Linked DNA regions of Homo sapiens: all the other regions are linked to region 2. The links are contacts of gene promoters, found by promoter capture Hi-C in blood cells and fetal thymus (Javierre and others, 2016). All regions are on one chromosome and are shown on one strand. Each heading gives the region's core, a stretch centred on a gene start or on the middle of the fragment in contact. The rest is flanking DNA. Distances are from core to core; before and after follow the strand shown. Region 1 overlaps CERS4 (ceramide synthase 4). Region 2 holds the start of ELAVL1 (ELAV like RNA binding protein 1). Region 3 holds the start of FBN3 (fibrillin 3).

Region 1 (3,881 bases), core at 770-3,269, 210 kb after region 2:
TGGGGCCCTGGCCTCGGAGTCCGCAGCCCGGCCGCGTAGACGGCTTCTGAGAACCGCTTAAACACGTCATTCCAAGCCCGAGCTAACCCATCAGGCGGCCGGGGTGAGGTGGAGGTGCCCAGGCGGGGATAATGTCATTTGGCCTGGTTGGACCAGCCAGCGAGGGCTTTTTAGGCCCAGGGCCTAGCCGGGAGTGTGTGCGGAGCAGAAAAGAGGCCAGCCTGGCTGAAACGCGGAGAGGGAGGGTCTGAGGTGGAGAGAGGTTGGCCGGGGCCTGGGAAGCGGCGAGGAGAGTGTGGAACCCGTTCTCGGGGCGGTGGGGACCAGGGAGGCTTGGAACAGCAGGTGCATGGCGTGATCGGATTGTGTCTTAAGAACATCCCGTAGCCGCTGTGGGTAGGAGAGATGGGGATACTTGGAAGGGGGCTTCTGGCTTGACCTGGCTGGAAGGTGTGATAGGAAGTGGGTGAACTGAAAATTCGCTTTGGCAGAGTAACATCGTCTAATTCTGTCTGTTTGCAAGTGGAGCGTGGGGGACCGATGTTTCTCCTGGGTAGTTAGGAGTATATAGAAGAGGCTTTCATTGCTGGGTTGGGAGACTTGAGGAGAAGCTGCTCTGGGGGACACAGGAAGGTGGGCAGGGGGAGAGGCTGTTGTGGTTTGCAAAACCTACCAGATGGGGGAATGCTCCCATCGACTCCAGTCTGAGCTCAGGCAAGGTCTCAGGCATCTGAGCGCAGAGGCCAGGGTGACCCCACTGGGGCGACCTGGGTCTGTTATATGGGGATAGGGTTCCTGGACTGTGGAATTGTCTTTGAAGCCCTCGGCCTCCCCCAGCCTCAAATGGGTCTGCCTTCCAGGAGCAGCTGCTGTGAATAAACACAGAAGTGGAGCTGGGGGACTGATTAGAAGCCTCATTCAGTGCACCTGGGCCCCAGCAGGCCCAGCCAGGCGTGGAGGAAGAGGCATTGAGGACTTTCCTTACCTGTTTTTCCAGCTCACCCACTGCCAGCAGAGGTACTTTGAGCCTGGGGTGTGGGGGGTGGGGGGCGGCCTTGGTCGTTGAACTGGCTGTAGGGCCCCCAGGGAAAGGTTTCTGAGCTTCAGTTTACCCATCTGTAAAATGGGTCAGTAGTATCTGAGCCTGGGAGTGTTCATGGATCGATGAAAGCCGAGGCTAGGCAGATCTCGGTGGCAGCCACACCCCTAAGGAACCGGAGAGGGTTCTAACGCCCGGTGGGAGTTCAGGGGGATGTATGGGCTTCCATTTCTCCTCTGAGAAATTCACAACAGTGTCCACCTCCTGACCCAGGGCTGTCTGCAGGTTGAATAAAGCGGTTGACCCAGTGCGTGGCACAGAATGTCTTGGCTCAGGAGCCACTGGGATGCCTGTAGTTGGCAGCAGAAGTGGGCCCAGGTTCCCTCCTCCCACCCGTGGGATGGCACAGAAAGGCAGGTGCCTTGGGAGCTCGCTGCCCTGTCCCCTTCTCTGAGCACCACAAGCTTCTCCCTTTCCGACTGGCTGGGCTTGAGCCTGACCACCCCCCAGCCCTGTCCTGCCACTTTGAGTTGAGGGCCTCCGGGCTACTGACTTCACCACTTCCTGCTTCAGTTTCTCCACCTGTAAAATGGGATAATAGCAGTCATGACCTATAGGTAAAGAGCTGAACACAGTGCCTGGCTGGTTGTGAATACGTGCTAAACAGGCTATTAAAATATCACGAGAATATCACAGAGCTGGAGGCTATTAAAATATCACGGAGGGGCTGGGCGTGGTGGCTCACGCCTGTAATCCCAGCACTTTGGGAAGCTGAGGCAGGCAGATCACCTAAGGTCAGGAGTTCGAGAGCAGCCTGGCCAACATGGTGAAACCCCATCTCTACTAGAAATACAAAAATTAGCCGGGCGTGGTGGCATGTACCTGTAATCTCAGCTGCATGGGAGACTGAGGCAGGAGAATCTCTTGAACCTGGGAGGCAGAATTTGCAGTGAGCCGAGATCGCGCCACTGCACTCCAGCCTGGGCAACAAAGTGAGACTATCTCCAAAAAAAAAAAAAAAAAAAAAAATTCAGAGTCATGCCTGGGGTCAGGGGGAGTCCAGAGGAGTCACCTGACTCAGCCTAAGGAGGAGTCAGGGAAGGCCTCCTGGAGGAGGTGACAGTTGGCTGGGTCGCTAAGGGTAAGGAGGAGTTAACCAGGCCAAGAGACCAGTGGGCAAATTGCAGAGGAGAGAAACTGCCAGGGTGCTTGGATGAAACAACCACAAAGCCAGGGTTGTAAGATCCAGAAGAGGGGAGAGGAAGAAGGGCAGAGCCAGCCTGCCAGCCTTGAACAAGCATTTGGCATTATTTAGAGCTCAGGGAACAGACTGCAGGGGTCGAAGGCAGGAGCCTGGAGACCAGGATGGAAGGGACTGCACCAGGCCAGGGGAGTAATGGTGGGGCTGGACCAGGTGAAGGCGTGGACGGGTGAGACTTGGGTGGATCTTGGAGAGATATGGAGAGGCCGGGGGAGGGAGCAGCTGCTCATGGGGGAGAAGCTTTAGGTGTAAGTCAGCAATCTGTTCTCAGCATCTGGAAATTGCCATGCTGCTAGACACCCAGGTGGTACGGCGTAGGATGGGCTTTAAAGCAAGCTGGGAGCTTGGGAGACAGCAGAAAGAGGGCAGAAGGAAAACCAGGAGTGGGTGGCAAGCTGGGAGCCAAGGGAGCTGGGGCTGTCATAGGAGGAAAGGGTCTTGAAACCCCTGTTTGATAATTCAGTAGCAGGCATCTTACTGTTTTTTTAATTATTATTTTTTTTATTTTTTGGAATGGAGTTTCGTTCTTGTCGCCCAGGCTGGAGTGCAATGGTGCGATCTCGGCCCACTGCAACCTCCACCTCCCGGGTTCAAGCAATTCTCCTGCCTCAGCCTCCTGAGTAGCTGGGATTACAGGTGCGAACCACCACACCTGGCTAATTTTTATATTATTAGTAGAGATGAAGGGGGGTGGGTTTCACCATGTTGGCCAGGCTGGTCTCGAACTCCTGACCTCAGGTGATGCACCTGCCTCGGCCTCCCAAAGTGCTGGGATTACAGGTGTGAGCCACTGCGCCCAGCCCGTCTCACTTTCTTTTGTGGCTGCTCTTTACCAACCCTGTTCTGTTCCCCATGCCTTTCAGTACAAGCTCTTTTCTTTGCTTTTCTTTCTTGTTTTTGTTTTGTTTTTTCAAGACAAGTTCTGGCTCTGTTGCCCAGGCTGGGGTGCAGTGGTGCGATCTTCGCCCACTGCAACCTCCACCTCCCAAGTTTAAGCAATCAGCCTGGGACTACAGGCATAAGCCACCACACCTGGCTAATTTTTGCATTTTTTTGTAGTGATTTTGTAGAGTTTTGCCAGTTGCCCAGGCTGGTCTGAAACTATTGAGCTCAAACGCCTCAGCCTCCTAAAGTACTGGGATTACAGGCATGAGCCACTGCACTCGGCCTCTTTCTTTCTTTCAAAGGCAGAATCTTGCTCTGTCGCTCAGGTTGGAGTGCAGTGGCATGATCATAACTCACTGCAGCCTCGACCTCCTGAGCTCAACCTCAGCCTCCTGAGAGCTGGGACCACAGGCATGCACCACCAGGCCTAGCTAATCCTTAAAAAAAAATTTTATACACATGGACAGGGGTCTTACTATGTTGCCCGGGCTGGTCTTGAACTCCTGGCCTCAAGCGAGCCTCCAGCCTCAACCTCCCAAAGCACTAGGATTATAGGCATGAGCCACTGTGCCTGGCCAAGCGCAGGCTTTTCTTTGCCATCCTTGAATAGGCCCCTCAGACCCATCATGGCTCTGACCAGAGTAGCATAGAGAGGCCCGGCGCGGTGGCTCACGCCTGTAATCCCAGCACTTTGAG
Region 2 (4,020 bases), core at 1,404-3,903:
ACTCCTGCTGGAGTGTGGAAAGAGGGAAGAGATGGGAAGCGGAGAGTGAGAGAGGCAAGAAATTTTCATAAAGTTTTTTCATAATTCTCTCATTTCTTTTACTTGAAATAGCACCATGGGCTGGGCGCGGTGGCTCACACCTGTAATCCCAGGACTTTAGGAGGCCAAGGCGGGTGGATCACCTGAGGTCAGGAGTTCGAGACCAGCCTGCTCAACAAGGCGAAATCCCACCTCTACTAAAAATGCAAAAAATTAGCTGGACGTGGTGGCGGCTGCCTGTAATCCCAGCTACTTGGGAGGCTGAGGTTGCAGTGAGCTGAGATGGCACAACTGCACTCCAGCCTGGGCAACAAGGGTGAAACTGTCTCAAAAAAAAAAAAAAAAAAAGAAAAAGAAAAAAAAAAAAAAAGAAATAGCACCATGGTCCGGGCGCGGTGGCTCACGCCTGTAATCCCAGCACTTTGGGAGGCCGAGGCGGGCGGATCACAAGGTCAGGAGATCGAGACCATCCTGGCTAACACGGTGAAACCCCGTCTCTACTAAAAGTACAAAAAATTAGTCGGGCGTGGTAGCCGGCGCCTGTAGTCCCAGCTACTCGGGAGGCTGAGGCAGAAGAATGGCGTGAACCCGGGAGGCGGAGCTTGCAGTGAGCCGAGATCGCACCACTGCACTCCAGCCTGGGCGGCAGAGTGAGACTCCGTCTCAAAAAAAAAAAAAAAAAAGAAATAGCACCATGATCTCAGACTCAACACATCCAGACTGAAACTCTGTCTGCTCAAAACCAATGCATCAACATAAACAGTATTATTTCCTTCCACATTTGAGACGTTCGTGTATCTCAACCTCTTTGTGGGCCTCGAAGTTGCAGAATTTGATAATAGATCCCAGCACAGAACTTTGCACACAGAAAATATTCGATGACAACTGGAGTGCCCTGGAGCCTTGTGATTATAGGAGCAGTACAATCGAGTGGTTAAGAGTAAGGGTTTTGAATCAGAGGGCCCGAGTTCAAACCCTGGCGCAGCCACTTTAGTGCATGAGACTGGTCACATCAAGTGACCCATCTAAGCCTCAGTTTCTTCATCTCTAAAATGGAAATTAATGGAAATTATAACATCACCTGCCTCAAGGACTGCAGACAAACGTCCACAAAGTGTCAAGCACATAGTAAATCCTCAATAAATACTGGTGGCTATGTACAACATCATTTATTCAGTGCCTACCAGGCACAGACCACGCACAACGCAACGGGATTTCCACCCTCTTCAATTTGCACCACACTTTTGTCCTTCCCATTTTATAGATAAGAAAACTAAGGCTCAACAGAGTCAAGCTTGTTCGAGGTCTTGGGAGCATCTCCCAGGGCATTAGAACTTTTGGAGGAAGAGCATTTAGTTCAGTAATGGTTCTCACCTGTGCGTGTGAGAGTGGAAGAGACCCCTCCCCCGCAACCCGAGCCATCTGGCAATGTTTGGAGATACTTTTGATCCTCACGACTTGGAGCATGGGGATACTGCTGGCATCTAGTGGGTAGAGGCCAGGAATACGGCTCAACTTCCTACATTGCACAGGGAAGCCCCCACTACCACCACAACCAAAAACTATCTGACCCCAAACATCAGTAGGGCCAACGTCGAGAAACCCTGCTCTAGACAGATCATTCTCCTCATCTTCCCATTTCTGGCCATCCGGATCTTAGATGAACACTTTCTAGCAAGGGGGCTCAGTCCCACCACGGGAAGCCCATGCAGAAGTTGTGCAGAAGTTCTTCTCCACCTGCCCTGCACACAGTAGGGACCAAAACCCATTTTAACAAGCCCCGCAGCCCAGAGCACCGGAAAAGGAAGGAAGGGCATCCATCCCCCATTGTTCAACTGTGTGCAGCTTGTGTTTCCAACAGGCACACACACATATTTTACAAATCCTAACGTCCCACGCCCCACAAACAGCTTTGTTAGAGATGGCGCTCAAAAAAAGATGCAGTTTAGATTTTTTTTTTCCCCCAGGACTCCCGTGTATCTACTGAAGGGTTTGCACACTTCTCAAAGGACCTCGCACCGGCCGCGGTGCTCTGACAACGACCACAAAAGAATCTGTGGGATTTCCCGGGGGAGCAAGCCCGTGGGCCGTGACCTCTGCGCGCTCAAAGCGTTCCCGGCGCTCCCCCGTAGCTGGCCCCACTCTCCCGCCCCCGGAGCCCGGGCTTCCAAGGCGACCGGGGCCCCCGGCCGTGCAGCCCGGCCCCCCGGCGCATGCCCACGCCGTATCCCCCTCGCCCGTCCCTCGAGGCGCCAGAGGAATCCGGCCCCGGGGCCTGTAGCCGGCGCCCACACCGGCCCGCCCCGACCCGCCCGCCGCGGCCCCAGCGCGCGTCCCCTCCCCCGGTCCGGCGCGGCCTGGGCCTCGGCCGGTGCAGGCCCGCGGGCGCCCCGCGGCCAGGCCAGGCGAGCTCAGGCCTGCCGCGGCCTACCCCGTCGGGCGCCGCCGAAGGCCCCCCACCGCCTCACCTGGATGCGGGCGGGCGGGCCCGGGGCTGCTCCGGGGCGGGCGGGAGGCGGCGGCGGCGCGGCGCTAACGGCTCCGCTCGGCCTCGGTAGCGGTGGCGGCGGTGGCGGCGACGGCGACGGCGGCAGCGGCTCCTCCTCAGCGCGCACGACCCGCTCCGGCCCGCGGCCCGGACACGCCCCCCCCGCGCGCGAGCCCATTGGCCGACGTCCGCCACGGCGCGCTGCTCATTGGCCGGCGTAGCTGTCGCGGCGCTCCGGGGCGCGCGGGAGAGGCGGGACTTCCGGTCGGCGCCGCCTGCGAAGTGCTCCGCGGCCGGCGGAGACGCGGGCAGCCAGCGATGGCCGCGGAGGGGGCGAACTGGGTTCCGGCCCTCGGAGGCTGACGGAAGGCGGTGGCTGAGGAGCGGCGCCTCTGGTTGAGCGCTCGCCGTGTGTCCCGCACCTGTCTGTCCTGCCGCCGCCCGGTAAGGTAGGAAAGGTCAGCGCGCCGGGGTTACGGGTACAGAACCTGGGTTCGAATCCCGGCCCCGACGTTTCCGCACTACGTGCCGTTGGGCAGGAGCTGACGTCACCTTGCCGGGCCTCAGTTTCCTTCTCTGGTGCGCTGAGGAGGCGGGGCATGGAACGTGGTCAGCGCTTCATCGGTGCTGGCTCTTTGAGCAAGCCAGTTCCCGAAGGCTCAGCATCTCATTCATTCATTAAAATGTCATTGAGCGCCTACTGTGTGTCAATCACTGTATGGGCAGTGAGCAGAAAAAAAATACCTGGTCTTATTGGGCTAACATTCTAAACCAGCGCTGGCCTAGAATGCCCTAGTAGAAATACATGCAAGCTACATGTTTAATTTTTTTTTATGTAAAGATGGGCTCTGGTTCTGTTGCCCAGGCTGGTCTCGAACTCCTGGACTCAAGCGATTCTCCTGCCTCCGCCTCCCAAAGAGCTGGGATTACAGGCATGCCTGCACTCTGCCTAATTTTTTCTTTTTTTTTTTTATGATCTGAAAATAATAGTCTTTTTATTTTTATTTATTTATTTATTTATTTGAGACGGAGACTCGCTCTGTCGCCAGGCTGGAGTGCAGTGGCGTGATCTCCGCTCACTGCAACCTCCGCTTCCCAGGTTCAAGCGATTCTCCTGCCTCAGCCTCCTAAGTAGTTGGGCCTACAGGCGCTGCGCCACCACAACCAGCTAATTTTTGTATTTTTAGTAGAGACGGGGTTTCACCGTGTTGGCCATGATGATCTGTATCTCTTGACCTCGTGATCTGCCCGCCTCAGCCTCCCAAAGTGCTGGGATTACAGGCTTGAGCCACTGCGCCTGGCCTACAATTTTGTTTTTCTTTTTTTTTTTTTTTTTTTGAGACAGGATCTCACTCTGTCACCCAATTTGGAGTGCGGTGGTATGATCACAGCTAACTGCAGCCTCAACTTCCCCAGCTCAGGCAATCAATCCTCCGGCTTCAGATTCCTGAGTAGCTTAGACTACAGGATGTGCCACTATGCCTGGCTAATGT
Region 3 (3,722 bases), core at 448-2,947, 140 kb after region 2:
CCCCATCTCTAAAAATAATAATAATAAAGAAAAGAAACCAACAGAGAGAGACATGAGCAGAGATGAATAGAGAGAGGCAGAGACAAAGCAAGGGAACCAGAGAGACAGACAGACACAAGGAGGTTGTAGGGCAAAGGAAATGAACATGGCAGGTTGGCCTGGAACCCTGAGGACAGACGCAGATGCAAGGGCCATTCCTGTGGTTCAGCCAGAGGTCCCTGGCTAAGTCCCCGTGTAAACAGAGCTGAACCTGCAGGCAGGTAAGAGTGTCCCCGGCCTGTGCCCCCCCACCTCCAGACGGCGGTAGCACTCACGTACGACACACTGGCTCCTGCCAGGGAATGTCCTCCAGCCTGGACAGCAGTAGGCATGGAACCGGGAGCCGCACACATTCGGCCTTCGGGGACAGCGAGATGGGTCTGGTGAGCCCCTGCCCGTGTGGACATCCCCCCGGGTATTCCGCTGGCCCCAGGACAGCCCAATCCACACCGAAGGGGTCTCCCAGCATCCCAGGTACCACGCACCCCTGCAAGATGCCTGGGCTGCCCCGCCTCCGCACACGTCCAGGACCTGCAGCCTCCAAGGCCCCGTCCCAGCGGCCTTGGCCACCTGCCATGCACAACAGGGCCGACCAGGCCAGCAGGAGCCGGGCCAGGGGGCCCCTTGCCAAATACAGACCCTCCAGAGTCATGGCGTGTCCCCTGGAGGCTGCGGAGAGGAAGCAGAGTCAGCCCTAGATGAGCCCCCCACCCTAGCCATGGGGGACCCAACACAACGAGGAGGGCAGGGTGGTTGCCAAATGGGGCAGCCCCGGGGCCTCTGGGAGCCCAAGGAGGCATCCAGCCCCAACCGGGAAGCGGTGAACAGTCAGAGGAGGCTTCCTGGAGGAGGTGTGATGTTAGAGAAGGGTCTTGGGGCTGAGGGTGCACAGCCAAGGCAAGACGGGAGTGGGAAGTGGAAGGGAGGGGAGAGAGGGCCAGGTGGGGCCAGGTGGGGCCAGGCGTTGCAGGAGTGGGCATAGCAGTGTCATGCAGCTTTTGCTCATTCGTCAAGGACAATGAAGAGCCCTTGAAAAGCTTTGAGTGGGAGGAGCAAGGTCAGAAATGCATGTTAGGTGGTGTGGGGAAGGGCAGCAGGGTCCCGGGGGGGAAACAGGGTGTCAGAAGGCTGGGGGCTGTCCAGATGGGAGAGAGAGGAGAGGAATGGGAGGCTCATGTCGTGGGAGGTGGAGGGCATTGAGGAGATTCCCAAAGTTCTAGCTGGGACGGTGGAGCCCAGAGAGCGTCCAGGGTAGGAGGAAGATGGTAAGTCGTGGAAGGCAACAACCCCACTGTCCCTCTGTGACACAGATACCCCCACTCCTGCAATGCCTGGCCCCACCTGGCCCTGTGTCCCCTCGCCTCCACATCCCACGCCGGTCTTGCCTGGGCTGTGCACCCTTAGCCGCAAGACCCTTTTCTAACATCACACCTCCTCCAGGAAGCCTCCTCTGACTGTTCACTGCTCCCAGGTCAGGGCTGGATGCCTCCCTGGGCAGGGGGCCCAGGCAGGGGCTGGAACTTCCCAATGCAGAGAGTAACCCTGTGCCCAGCAGGGAAGGGACCGCTTCTGTGCCCATTTCACAGATGCACAAACTAAGGCCATCACACCATGAGTGAGGGGCTAAGCCGGAGCTTAAGCCCACGAAGAGAAGAAGGAGGGGAAGAAGATCAGGAACGGAACTCGCTCCTGCCCCCCTTGGCTGGGTCTTTCCTGGGCCATGAAGGACGGGAGGGAGAAGACCGGGACAGGAGACGACCGTTTGGAGGGTGGAGGCAAAATACTTGAGGGAGAGAAGCCAGACCAAGTGGCCTTCCTGTTCCATTCAGGTTCCAGGGAGGAAAGGAACCGGCCCTAGGTGGAGAATGGGCGGGGAGCCCTGCTGTGTGGTCTTGGCCACGCCCCTCTCTGGGCCAACCTGGTTGTCCAAAGGCCCCGGAGAAGGGAGAGACCCCTGTCAACGTTGGAGGGTTGGCTGGCTGGAGAGGGGCGCCCTCTTTTTCTTCTCAGTTGTCCGGGTCAGTCCGCACTCTGAGGCTCCGTGGACTCCAAGCAGCCTCGGGGCTTGCAAGCCCTCCTCCCCCACTCCCTCCGCCCCAGCCCCCTGCCTCGGGTCGGGTGGGGGAATTAGGTGGGGGGAGTCTCTGGCCTGATTTGCCTCGGTCCCCCCTACACACCGCTGCTTCTGCGAGCCACACCCTGGAGTTTGTGGAATGAATGAGCAGAGAAGGCGCGCCCGGCACGGGGTGTGGAGGCTGAGGGCCAAACAGCGAGGGATACCAAGCTTCGCCGACGGGGAGGGGGCGCCCCCGGAGCCCGCGGGGCGCGATCTCCACCCGGCAGGGCCCCCGGCCGCGACCACGCTTGGCTCCGCCCTCACCTGTGGGGTCAGGGGCCCCGCGCCCCGGCCGAGCCCCTCCCGCCGGGTCCCCGCGCCCCCACTCCCCACTGCGGCGGGCGCCACTAGAAGGCGGAGAGGGGAGGGGGCTGGGCCCGGGGCTGCCCGGCTGCGAACAAAGGAATCCTCTCCCCCTCCCCCTGCCGGCCCCCCCGCCCCCGCCTTCTCCACCCTTCAGCGCCCGCGATCTCGCCCCGCCGCTGGCCCCGCGCCTTCACCTACCTGCGAGGCGGCGCGCGTGGAGGCGGGCACGGCAGGCGGACGCGCGGGACTCAGCGCTGCAGGGCGGGCTCCTGCGGCGCCGGGGACCCGGGGCGGGAACGCAAAGCCGAGAGGCCGACCCCGCCGCGTTCCCAGCCCAGAGCTGCCACTCGGGGGGGAGTTGGGGGCGGGAGGAGTTGGAGGAGGGCGCGTTTGCACCTCTTAGCTCCCGGGGCGGGGACGGGGGGCTCCGATCCGGGGCGGGGAGAGAGGCTGCGGCTCGGGGGAGGGTCCGGGGCTCCGAGTGAAAAACTCCGATGGACTGGAGGGATGTGAGGGCGGGCTGGGGGCGCCTAGTAGGGGCTGCCGGGGCCGCGTTTTCGGATCGAGACTAAGGTGGAGGTGGGGCTCTGACTTTTGGAGGGCCTGGACGACAGCCTGGGCAGAGAAGTCCCGGGACTCACCTGGGCGGCCCTCTCAGGGCCTCCCAAGCCGCCACCCCCTCCCTCGAGCAAGGAGAATTGCGAGAGTGACGTTGGAAACTCACCTGGCTCTTGGAGCCTGGATTCTTAACTAGGCTGAGATCAGGGGCCCCTAAATATGTTGACAAAACATTGGGCAAAGCTGTATTTCCCAGGGAGAAGGGCCCAGGTTTTTCATCTGGTTCTCAAAATGAAGAGGTTAACAATTCAAACGGTGTAAACTTTCAAATCTCTTTGAACCTGTTTGTCCACCTACCAAAGGGACCAGACAAGAATTTTGGCTCCCTATCTGTTGTCAGTACTCCAAACAAAAATTTCTAGGCTTTTCCACTACCTTCATACCTTTGAGAATAGACCCTTAACATGGGGATCTGTCAGAAGCTGTGCGTTGGGCCTGAAGCTGTTACTCCATCCAGCAAACTCCTACGCATCTGTCAAAGTCCAGTTCAAAAATTCCCTCCCTATCCGCAAATTGTGAGTTTACTCTATTGAACTCCCAAAGCTGATTGTGCTGAATATCCCCCCACCACAGTACTTCCGGAATCTAATAAATAAGTAAGCCCAGTGGGCTTGAAACCAGGAGTTCGAGACTAACCTGGGTA

Evidence for each region. The method cuts DNA at HindIII sites, captures the fragments that hold promoters and counts their contacts. A CHiCAGO score of 5 or more calls a contact.
Region 1: a contact is called between a fragment that was not itself captured here and the fragment with the promoter of ELAVL1 in region 2, in 4 of 17 cell types (fetal thymus, activated CD4 T cells, erythroblasts and 1 more). The highest score is 6.0, in fetal thymus.
Region 3: a fragment that was not itself captured here is called in contact with the fragment with the promoter of ELAVL1 in region 2 in 1 of 17 cell types (megakaryocytes); the score reaches 6.6 in megakaryocytes.

Annotation. Positions count from the first base shown.
Region 1 is chr19:8,209,846-8,213,726 of GRCh38, forward strand. It overlaps CERS4 (ceramide synthase 4), which reads left to right. Exons shown (of 12, transcript NM_024552.3): 2 at 861-1,017. Among named protein-coding and RNA genes, the nearest start is that of CERS4, 2.4 kb to the left of the region's middle. RefSeq lists a silencer at 1-125. The HindIII fragment of the contact is 1,037 bases long and covers 1,502-2,538 here.
Region 2 is chr19:8,002,988-8,007,007 of GRCh38, forward strand. It overlaps ELAVL1 (ELAV like RNA binding protein 1), which reads right to left and starts at 2,654. Exons shown (of 6, transcript NM_001419.3): 1 at 2,508-2,654. LOC105372266 (a long non-coding RNA gene) reads left to right here and starts at 2,826. Exons shown (of 4, transcript XR_936302.2): 1 at 2,826-2,971. RefSeq lists silencers at 2,030-2,079, 2,110-2,309, 2,540-3,029. The HindIII fragment of the contact is 3,163 bases long and covers 1,332-4,020 here.
Region 3 is chr19:8,146,790-8,150,511 of GRCh38, forward strand. FBN3 (fibrillin 3) reads right to left here and starts at 2,803. Exons shown (of 64, transcript NM_032447.5): 1 at 2,660-2,803; 2 at 525-708; 3 at 315-397. The coding sequence starts at 691. RefSeq lists enhancers at 18-989, 990-1,960. The HindIII fragment of the contact is 1,247 bases long and covers 1,075-2,321 here.